Regions from separate parts of the Homo sapiens genome. Here regions 2, 3 and 4 are each linked to region 1. The links are contacts of gene promoters, found by promoter capture Hi-C in blood cells and fetal thymus (Javierre and others, 2016). All regions are on one chromosome and are shown on one strand. The core of a region is centred on a gene start or on the middle of the fragment in contact, and the rest is flanking DNA. Distances in the headings are between cores, read along the strand shown. Region 1 holds the start of OR4C5 (olfactory receptor family 4 subfamily C member 5). Region 2 has its middle 38 kb from the start of OR4C13. Region 3 has its middle 20 kb from the start of OR4C13. Region 4 has its middle 56 kb from the start of OR4C13.

Region 1 (2,700 bases), core at 44-2,543:
TTTGTATTTTTAAAATATCAAAAAGCTTTTTAATTTAGTTATCAAGTCTAATTTTTTATTGCCTGATGTCTTTCTGTGTTACACCTTTTTTTCTGAATATAATTGCTTGTTATTTACCTTGAGTTGAGTACTGAGTTCATTTATTTTCTCTCTTAATATTACAATGATAAATAACTTAAAGATAAAAATAATTATATGCAAAATTTTGTTTACTTGTGTTCTTTATCAAGATGTGGAGTACATGGTAAGCTATAGGTTTACCTTTAGGATACAAAGCTTGATATATTTAATCATGATATTCTTTAGTTCCTCCATTCCATTTGTTATTTTTCCCATTTTATATATGAAAAAGTTTAGGCACAATGAGACTAAGATCTGTACACAATATCATGTGGCTAATAGTCAGTGAAGATAAAATGTAAAAATTAGGCATCTGATTCTAAAAAACACTCTGTCCAATAAATTATGGTGCTTTTTTTCCCTCACCTTAAAATTATGTTTTCTAAACAGATCCATATAATTTTTCATAGTCATCCTTAAATTGGGTTTTGATTTGCAAAATGCCCTGAATTCTAAACATGACAGTTCTCCAAGTGAATTCTAAAGTTTCAGATACATCTGGGGAATGCTGCCTTGCATCATGCTGTTTTATCCTCTTCCAGGATATGCTTCCAGAAGTGTTTGATTGTATTCTTAGACAATTCTGTTTGGATGTGGCATAAATTCTCAAATCTAACTGCCATGGAGTATCTTACTGCAGCCTCAAACATTCACTCAGTTCAGTTGATTCTGAAATGTGGTGGCATCATCCTTAATTTCAAAGTGAACTCACCTGATGTTTTATAGTTACCCTGAAACAAGTTAAAAATAACCAGAATAACAAACTCTGCACCGTAGCCTCATGAACATGAGTGGTTAAAAAAAAAAAAAAAACGAAAAAAAAAAGAAACTAGGAAATTGACAGGAATTCAAGCCTCTGCTCCTCCTCTTTTTACTGCTGTTTTTCTATGGGGAAAAAAATGCTGTAAGGGTGATTGAGAGAATATCCATCCATGTACAATCATAGGAAAAATGCCTGACATGTCAACATCATAAAATCATGTTTGTGTACATAAATGAATGTGTGTATGTGTTTTTCTGTGTCTGTGTGTGTCTCTGTATGAGAGAGAAGAGGTATCTGTGTTCATTATGTCATGAATAACATAGCTCAACTTAGTCTTGGGTTTATAGATTTAGGGATTCCATCAGTGTTACAGAAAATAATCCTGACCAAAATTATTTTATTGTTCAAAATGTATGTGTCAAATTGCAATCCTTGTGCTATTCACAGAAAAATCAATTATCCAAATACCAAACTGGATTTCGAGCAAGTGAACAACATAACGGAATTCATCTTGCTTGGCCTGACACAGAACGCAGAGGCACAGAAACTCTTGTTTGCTGTGTTTACACTCATCTACTTTCTCACCATGGTAGACAACCTAATCATTGTGGTGACAATCACCACCAGCCCAGCCCTGGACTCCCCCGTGTATTTTTTTCTGTCTTTCTTTTCCTTCATAGATGGCTGCTCCTCTTCTACCATGGCCCCCAAAATGATATTTGACTTACTCACTGAAAAGAAAACTATTTCCTTCAGTGGGTGCATGACCCAGCTCTTTGTAGAACATTTCTTTGGGGGAGTTGAGATCATTCTGCTCGTGGTGATGGCCTATGACTGCTATGTGGCCATCTGCAAGCCCCTGTACTACCTGATCACAATGAACAGGCAGGTATGTGGCCTCCTGGTGGCCATGGCATGGGTCGGGGGATTTCTTCACGCTCTGATTCAAATGCTTTTAATAGTCTGGCTGCCCTTCTGTGGCCCCAATGTCATTGACCATTTCATCTGTGACCTTTTCCCTCTGCTAAAACTCTCCTGCACTGACACTCACGTCTTTGGACTCTTTGTTGCCGCCAACAGTGGGCTGATGTGTATGCTCATTTTTTCTATTCTTATTACCTCTTACGTCCTAATCCTCTGCTCACAGCGGAAGGCTCTCTCTACCTGCGCCTTCCATATCACTGTAGTCGTCCTATTCTTTGTTCCCTGTATATTGGTGTACCTTCGACCCATGATCACCTTCCCTATTGATAAAGCTGTGTCTGTGTTTTATACTGTGGTAACACCCATGTTAAACCCTTTAATCTACACCCTCAGAAACACAGAGGTGAAAAATGCCATGAAGCAGCTCTGGAGCCAAATAATCTGGGGTAACAATTTGTGTGATTAGAGAAGATAAACACAGAACCTACTCATATTTTAACAACAGGTATGACTAATGAAAAGGGTAAAGGTCTTGAGGTCAGAATAGTGAGTTTAAGTATATTTTATTCCCCTCATTTTCTGGAATCTTTAATGATGCCTTTTCATAAAAGATCAATATCTGATTAAATGATGACTAATGTTTCTGCCAATTTGAAACTTCTTCACATTTACAAATTATTAATCAGGGGGACATTGCTAGTCAACATAAAAATGTTACAGTGTATGGAAAACCCATGAGTTTATGTGTTTAGTAGAATAATTATCTGCAAAGCTTCGGTATAGAGTATATAACTAACAGGCCAAATAATTAAAATAAACAAAAAGACCTAATGGCTAAATCTTTTGTTGAAAATGCATAGTTTTAATCCCAACTAATAAAATCGAAGTAGAAC
Region 2 (2,700 bases), core at 14-2,513, 1.5 Mb before region 1:
ATTTGAATGTACTGGTTTTTTTAAATTGCTGGTTTCTATCATTTGCCCAGTTTGCTATTGGTTTGTCTTTTATTTATTAATTGCTTAGAGCACTCTGTCTATTTTAAATATTAACTCTGTGTCCTCAAAATTGTAAATATTTTTAAATGGTATCTTTTCCCAAATTCTTAAACAATTTTGAAATTGTCGAATATGTTTATTTTGGATTTCAATTATTAGTTAAGAAGATTCTCCCATCCAGAGAATGTAGAAAGTCATCTCCTTTATTAACTGGAAAGTAAATATAAAGTAAATCTAGCTTTAGTTTTATATTAAATCTTTAATTCATTTGTATTTATTTTTGTTTATGGTATTAGCTATATGTATAATTTTATGATCGTCCAGATGTAAAACTAGTTTTGGCAAACTCATTTATTTAATAAACTTCCTTTTCCCATATACATCCCAAATTACTTATTTCTCTCTCCATTAATTTGTAAGATTGCTGAGGTTGGGGACCATGCTTTAATCAGCCTTATATTCTTATAATGTCTTGCAATTCTGGAACATAATAACTCATAGCACCTATTTGTTGAATGAATAAACAAATTATCCTAAAATTTCATGAAGTTACTAGTAATAATTATATTTTTAGGTAATTTTGTCCTGAACACTGGAATAAGGACATACAAAAAGACATACGGAACAAAAGAAAAATATGACAGAGTTTGTCCTTGTGGGGCTCACTCAGAGCCCCCAGAGACAGAAAATATTATTTGTTGTGTTCTTGCTCATCTACCTTGTGACAATGGTAGGTGACATACTCATTGTTGTAACTGTGGTGGTCAGCCCAACTTTGGATGCCCCTATGTACTTCTTCCTTGGGTACTTATCATTAATGGATGCTGTTTAGTCCTCAGGTGAAGCAGCTTGTTTTGGTTCCATATTTATATAAAAATGATCCATTGATCTTCCCAGATGTTTAGAATATCTGATAATACCTCTGCTATTTTCAATACCCCCTTCTCATGGCCTTCTAAAAAACAGCCAGGCTCTGCTTTTTATATGTAAAATCAGCATAATCCATAATCTATGAACTTCAAATATGCAATGCAGAGCCTGATAGCAAATATTTTGGAATACACCATTGTCACAAAAGATAGACAGGTGTGGTGGTGCATGTCTGTGGTTCCAGCTGCTCAGGAGGCTGAGGTTGGAGGAGTTTTTGAGCCCAGGAGGTCAAGACTGCAGTGAACCGTGATCATGCTACTGCACTCTAATGTGGGTGACAGAGTAAGACTGAGAAAAAAAAAGAAAGAAAAAAAAAAGAAAGATGCTGGCAATATATGATGCTTCCATTCTTTCTTTATTGATAGAATGCAGATTATTAGGTAAAAAACGGACTAAAACATATGTTTCATTGGAAAGACACTTCATTCATAAAAATCTGTGTGAAAATTTCTTTTGAATCAGGCTTGAAATAAAATTTTATCTGCCCCTGACTACAGGTAGAAAACATGTAATCAAAGAAACTCATTGTTCCTGCTTCTCCTCTGTAGTCCGGATTCATGAGGGACTAAGGCTAGGGAAAAACATAAGTCAATTTCCCTGGTAAATCACACTATATGAGTTCACTTTGTATTATTATTTTTATCCTTATTATTATTACATGGAGATTTCTTATATCATCCAAGCTCTTCCAAAACATAGCACCATTCTCCAAATAGTATTGAGCATTTGGTAGTTTATAAAACTAGGTCCTGCATTTTTGGACATGTAATTAATTTTCCAATTTGTACGGTTCTATTGAGTGATGTAATAAAAAAAATCTTGGTTAATTGTCTGTTTATGTTTATTGGTCGGAAATTTCCCTGAAGTCAGGGAAAGTTACTTCTCTTTGTGCTCTCTGTTCCTTGCACAATGTCTGACACATAGAGCCTACTCCATAAACTTTGTTAATTACTTGTTTCCTTGAATTCTTAATCTATTGGAGTCAGAAATTTTACTGATACATTCTGATAAAGTTTTTCTGTATCAAAAATGTATGTATGTTCATTCCATTCTTTGATATTTGCTATAAATATTTACTTTACTATGTTATTGATGCTACAATTATGGATGTTTTTATACAGAAATGTTTTATCTTAACTTTTTTACTTCTTATTTTTTCTGTCATATGACACCTCAGTAAATTCCATTTCCCTCTAGTGACTTTATACATTTTAACACCTTATTTTATTTACTTACTTTTCTTTTCAGATTTTGTTTTAGAATCAGGAGGCACATGTGCAGGTTTGTTACAAAGGTATGTTGGATGATGCTGAGGTTTGGAGTATGATTGCACCCCTGCCCAGGTAGCGAGCATGGTACCCAGCAGGTAGTTTTTCAGCCCTTGCCCACCTCCCTCTCTCCTGCCTCTAGTCATCCCCATTAAAAAAATTACGAAAACATTTGTTTTCCAGCCAACGGAAAATTTATTTTTCTTGATCATAAGAAAATATTGAAGTCTAGTTTTCCTAAACAGGTAAAATAATCTGCCAATCTAATCCATTAATTATTTCCTTTTTTTTAATGCTCAGAAAAATAGTCACATTTATTAAATTCTTTCATAGGTAGTCAGACTTGGTGATATATGTTATGAATGAATATATAATTATTTTTTATTTTTTAATTTTATTATTATTATACTTTAAGTTTTAGGGTACATGTGCACATTGTGCA
Region 3 (2,700 bases), core at 22-2,521, 1.6 Mb before region 1:
TGTTTTGAATTTTAGATTATACTTGTTCATTGCTGGTATATAGAAAAGTGATTGACTTTTGTATATTAACCTTGATCCTACCACTCTGTTCTAATTATTAGTTCCAGTATTTTTTTGTTGATTTAGAAAAAATTTCTACATAGATGGTCATGTCATCTATAGACATTGACAGTTTTATTTCTTCCTATCAGTATACTTTTTATTCTTTATCTTGTCTTATTACATTAGCTAGGACTGCCAGAACAATGTTGACAAGAAGTGATGAGAAGAGACATTCTTGCCGTTTTCCCGATCTTAGTAGGAAAGCTTCAAGTTTCTCACCATTAAGTGTGATGCTAGCTGTAGATTCTTACTTTACAGTTTTTTTTTAGAATCATAAATAGGTGTTAGATTTTTTTTCAGAATCATAAATAGGTGTTAGATTTTTTCAAATGCTTTTTCTGCATCTATTAATATGGTAATTTGATTTTTTCTCTTTAACATTCGAGGCAATGGATTATGCCAATTGATTTTTGAATGTTGATCCCACCGTGCATACTAAATTGTACACCAGGATCTACTGAGATTTAGTCCGGGTATGCAGGGTGGAATCAACATTCAAAAGTACCTGGACTAAATCTCCATTGATCCTGGTGTACAATTATCTTTACATATTGTTGAACTTAATCTGCTAATATTTTGTTGAGGATTTTGCATCTATATTAATAAGAGATATTAGTCTGAAGTTTTCTTTTGTTGTAATGTCTTTGTTCTTGGGAGTAGGGTATGGCTGGCTTCATTGAATGAGTTAGGAAGTCTTCTTTCCTCTTCTATTTTCTAAAAGAAATTTAGAGAACTGGTATAATATCTTCCTTAAATATTTGGTAGAATTTACCAGTGAACCTGTCTGACCTGGTGCTTTCTGCTTTGGAAGGTGCTATGTACTTAATGTTTGTGTCAACCCAAAATTCATGTATTAAAATTCTAACTCCCTATGTGATGGTATTAGGAGGTGGAGCCTCTGAGAGGCCATCAGGGTGGAGCCCTGATAAATGGGATTAGTGCCCTTATAAGAGGCCCTTAGAGAAGGCTATGATTGAGTATTTCATTTACTCCAAGTAGGTTAGGCTCTAATAAAACCCCAGCAAGTTAGGGTGTGGCTAACAATAGGTTCTTCTGAGGGCCAGCCTTGTTAAGAAGAACAGAATACTGTGGATATTTAAAAATGTTTTTCCCCATCTCCAGGAAGATGAATTTATCACTTATTTCCCTACTTTGCCATAGCAATTATTTTCCTTTTATCTAATACTTGATTTTTTTCCCATTAGTGTGGGTTTGGATATATTTTGTAAAAAGTTTATTTAACATGTGGACAGGTCTTTTCCTAACATCTTCTGTGAGTATCAGGTAGGGATCATGAAGTTAAAACTCACAAAAGGTGAGAGACCCTCTGCCCTGCCCCACCTTGACTGATTCCCCTAGAGTTTTTATTTTTCAGCCTTCTCCATTAAGAAGTTCATCAATTAAGTTCAGGTTTTTCCTACCTATATCTACCCTCCTTGGCACAGGTTCTTGTGGGGTTTCTGCTTGTGGGTTTCTGCTCAGGGAAGGTGTGATTCTCTCTATCTGCCTGTCTATCTCTGCAATTTTGAGGGCAGCAGTTTGCGCTGTGAGCTCACTTCTGTGATGGATTTAAGATGAATTGTTGATATTTTAGTTTGTTCAGCTTTTTACTTGTTGTTAGGGTACAGTGGTGACTTCTAAGCTCTTTACATGCTAGACTATAAGTCCCCATTACTTTCTTTTAAAAAGAACTTTAAATGAAATACAAATTCCTTACCAAGATCTATACTGCCCTGCAGGGCTTGGCTTCTGTCCATCCCTTCAACCTCAGTTTGTTCTGTCCATTCTCTTTTCCTTTTCCTTTCAGGCACTAAGACCTTCTGTTGACTTGCACTTGCTCAGCTCTTTAAATATTGGAGCTTTCCACATGTAACAATATTTTCCATGGAGCAATATTTTTTCCTTTGGACCTCAGCTAAGTATCACCATTTAAAAAGACCTCTGATTACCTTCTTTACAGTAATATCTCACTTTTATTTTTCATAACAATACACAGTATTTTAAATACTGATCATAGATTATAATTTATTAAATTGTTTCCTTACTTTCTTAGAAGATATAAAGTTAATGTAGGCAGGACTTTTATGCTGTTGTTTTTTTTTCTGTTTCATTAACTATTGTATCTTAAGCTTATGGCATAGAACTTGGCATGAAAAGGATACTCATAACAATTTTTTAGAATAATAAATGCATAGATAAATAGTTATTACAACTAAATAAAATATTTTAAAAACATATCCAAACCCACACTTGTAGGCAGAAAAAATGGAAATTAGATAAAAGGAAAAAAGCCTGCTATTGCAAAGTGGTGAAAATATGATAAATTAATCTTCTAAGTGGCTAGGCTGATATTTTATTCTTCTTTGGCAATCCTACTATAATGGTTGTTTTTTCTTCCCTTGTTACATCTTTCTGACCCTAGTTATGTGATTGATCTGACAATATCTCTACATGCAAATGTTCTTTAAAAATATGGGGAAAATCCCGGTGAACTTAATTAAGCAAAAATCAGTCTTGAACAGAATCCAATTCCAAAACTCCATGATTAATGTGCTTATAAGGTACAAAGTCTTCAATAATATTTGCCCCTGTCAGGTA
Region 4 (2,794 bases), core at 281-2,780, 1.5 Mb before region 1:
TGCAAGTCAGAAATATGGTACTTTTCTAGAAAAAAAATATTTCATTTTGTTATGTTAAATAACATAAACTATACTATAAAACTACAGTAACCAAAACAGCATGGTACTGGTATCAAAACAGATACATAGACCAATGGAACAGAACAGGGGCCTCAGAAATGACACCACACATCTGCAAGCATCTAATCTTCCACAGTTCTGTAGACAACTGGGCTTTAAGGTTATTGGGTTCCAATGGCATTGTGTGAGTAACTTCCCATTATAAATCTCCTGGAGTCATTGTCATTTCTTTTGTGTTACCATATACAGATGGTATATTTGGTAAGGTTTGTAAAATGTCTCTGATGGTCATGAATGATGTTGTTCCAAGGAACTTGCCTGATGAGTCCAAACTCTGTATTTTGGCTAGACAGATCAATTACACTAGACTAGTGTTATTTACTGTCATTCCCATAGTCCTCCAAGCTTCTTCTGGGGAATCAACTATTATGATGCTATCAATGAATTAATTAATCAAATTAAAATGAATTTATTTTTATTATATTCGTGTATAAATTTTATTTCACCAAATTATGGCTGTATGCTAAGTATATATCTGTGGGGAAAAATGATAAACTTATTTTGCCTTTTTTTCTGCATAAAACTGAGCTATTCATGATATTTCTTTGATTCTAAATGTTTATCTGGAAGTATAAAGATATGGATATTGCAATTAAATTTTGAAAGAATAATGTGCTATTCTAGATAAGACAGATTAAAACGTTATATTGATAAAAAGGCAGTACTGTTTCAAATATATACATATGTAAATAAATAATAGGACTTACACATTACTTCAGTTTCCTATATATATTTAAATTGAGGATGTTTCATTTAAGATGTTTTTGTTACATATGATAGAAAACTCAATTCAAACTATCTTGAAATATAAGGATATTTACTTATTGGCTAACATAAGTGTAAAATTCAATCTTATGTCCAGCTTCATGGTAAGAGGATGAAATTATTTAATGAAAGAGTGTTTTTCTTTGCTCACTGCACTGTATCCTGTGTGTCACATATTGGATTTCATCTGGCTCTCCTATCACAAGAAGAATTGCTATCTGTAGCCATTGAGAGAAGGTTCTTTTTTCAACGTTAGCCAAGGTAATTGACCTGATTATGATGTGGAATGGAGGTGTTATAACACAGTGGTGGTAAGCAATGATATTTTTGTCTTCCAGGTGACTGACAGGGGCACATCTTGCCATGCCCTTTCTAATTGTGATAATAAGTGAGAATAGAAAAGAATCAGGTTCTGAATGATTATAGTGTACCAGGATGAGATATTTTGGAGATGAAGGTCTAAGCTACACCTTTAAGTAAGTCATGAGACCAGTAGCGGTGCTAGTAAAAGGTGAAGTGGGAGAAATAGAATTGACAATAAAGGAATAAGATGGTACATAGCAGTTGCAACTCTATGATCAGCCATGGTGGCAAGAGACAATATTTGTCCCTTAACCTTTCTCTTTTAATTTTCCCCCAGGAAGAGAATCTTAAAGAAGCTGTTCTCAAGTGTATATGAAGAAATGGATTCAAGTGACATAATAGGTAGGCTGTGATAGATAAAAGGATGTACTTCCTTGCCCTTCCTTTAGGAAAGAAGGATATATATTTCCAGTTGCTGGGCACGCTGTTCACAGACAACTTTCAGATATTAGCCCTTTCAATATCTGTAGAAGTTGCAGAAAGCCACCTCACCAAAGGCCTCATGTCCTTTCCCAGAAAATTCCCTTTTTGCAACTAGATCAATATTTAGGTGTCACTGGAGTGCAAGTGATAAATATTGCCTTGTTCTACAAGGAAATATTTCATTTGACTAACAAATTGTGAATATCAAATATGCACTGACAAGAATTGGAGGAACGTATGTAAAGGCATCTTGTGGATATCGGAACAAAAAAGGCAAAATAGATGGCTGCATGGGGGAATGTTTATTAGCATTGGGTTAATTTCTCAGAATATATGTGGCATAGGTATGTGATGACTAAAACTTACTGAGCACATATTGTGTGTCAAACATGTGGAAATGAGCATTTCACATTCTCAGGTTAGGATTGTCCAGCTGGCACCGTAACTCATCTTTTAGGAGGCCATTCCAATGTCTCATTTGTTCAGCTTCTAGATGATGACAATTGTGGTTATACCAGTAAATTCTATTGTGATGAGTTATATGTTTTAAATTTATTTACTAAAAATTTTCTTCTGGATAGATAATGAATGAGATACCATGGCAATGGATAACAGATTCTACTCCGTGAATAATAAATAAGGCAAGTGCTAGGAAAAATATGTAACCAGAATATATGATGAAAAAATGCTGTCCTCTCCAGACTGAGGAGTTGGAATGAAGTAAGCTGTCACAAGGTTGTTGGCTGGTTTCCCTAGCTACTTGTACCATGTTAAAGAGTCAATGATGGACATTGCTGATGGCATTTTAGACCTTGTGGCTTTGTAGAGTATTCATCTCTGCAACAGTGACTACAAAGGTAACTGAGAAAAAGGCTGACTGACATCCAAAATGCAGTTCATGTTCATGAGATTCCTGGAAGCTTCTTCTGCAGTAGATTCTTTTTGTTGGGCATTTATGTTGTAAACTAACATTGTAGTATTTGGTGTTCCTTTTGAGAGATTCATCCACATATGGTTCTTCCAACTACTTTGTCATCATTTTTCCATTTTTAAATTTCCAATTTCCTCATTAGCTTATTAAACCTGTTAGCCAGTGTCCATTTTCAGTGTAGATCCATAAGTA

Evidence for each region. Contacts are between HindIII fragments. The CHiCAGO score rates a contact against its expected background, and 5 or more counts as called.
Region 2: a contact is called between a fragment that was not itself captured here and the fragment with the promoter of OR4C5 in region 1, in 5 of 17 cell types (M0 macrophages, M2 macrophages, erythroblasts and 2 more). The highest score is 10.0, in M0 macrophages.
Region 3: a contact is called between a fragment that was not itself captured here and the fragment with the promoter of OR4C5 in region 1, in 7 of 17 cell types (M1 macrophages, monocytes, erythroblasts and 4 more). The highest score is 8.7, in M1 macrophages.
Region 4: a contact is called between a fragment that was not itself captured here and the fragment with the promoter of OR4C5 in region 1, in 8 of 17 cell types (endothelial precursors, erythroblasts, M0 macrophages and 5 more). The highest score is 11.1, in endothelial precursors.

What each region holds. Positions count from the first base shown.
Region 1 is chr11:48,365,058-48,367,757 of GRCh38, reverse strand. It overlaps OR4C5 (olfactory receptor family 4 subfamily C member 5), which reads left to right and starts at 1,293. Exons shown (of 1, transcript NM_001348223.2): 1 at 1,293-2,273. The coding sequence starts at 1,293. The coding sequence ends at 2,273. The HindIII fragment of the contact is 2,303 bases long and covers 279-2,581 here.
Region 2 is chr11:49,913,541-49,916,240 of GRCh38, reverse strand. It overlaps the pseudogene OR4A49P. Among named protein-coding and RNA genes, the nearest start is that of OR4C13, 38 kb to the left of the region's middle. The HindIII fragment of the contact is 5,755 bases long and covers 1-2,700 here.
Region 3 is chr11:49,930,695-49,933,394 of GRCh38, reverse strand. No RefSeq gene overlaps it. Among named protein-coding and RNA genes, the nearest start is that of OR4C13, 20 kb to the left of the region's middle. The HindIII fragment of the contact is 1,925 bases long and covers 309-2,233 here.
Region 4 is chr11:49,894,656-49,897,449 of GRCh38, reverse strand. No RefSeq gene overlaps it. Among named protein-coding and RNA genes, the nearest start is that of OR4C13, 56 kb to the left of the region's middle. The HindIII fragment of the contact is 2,126 bases long and covers 468-2,593 here.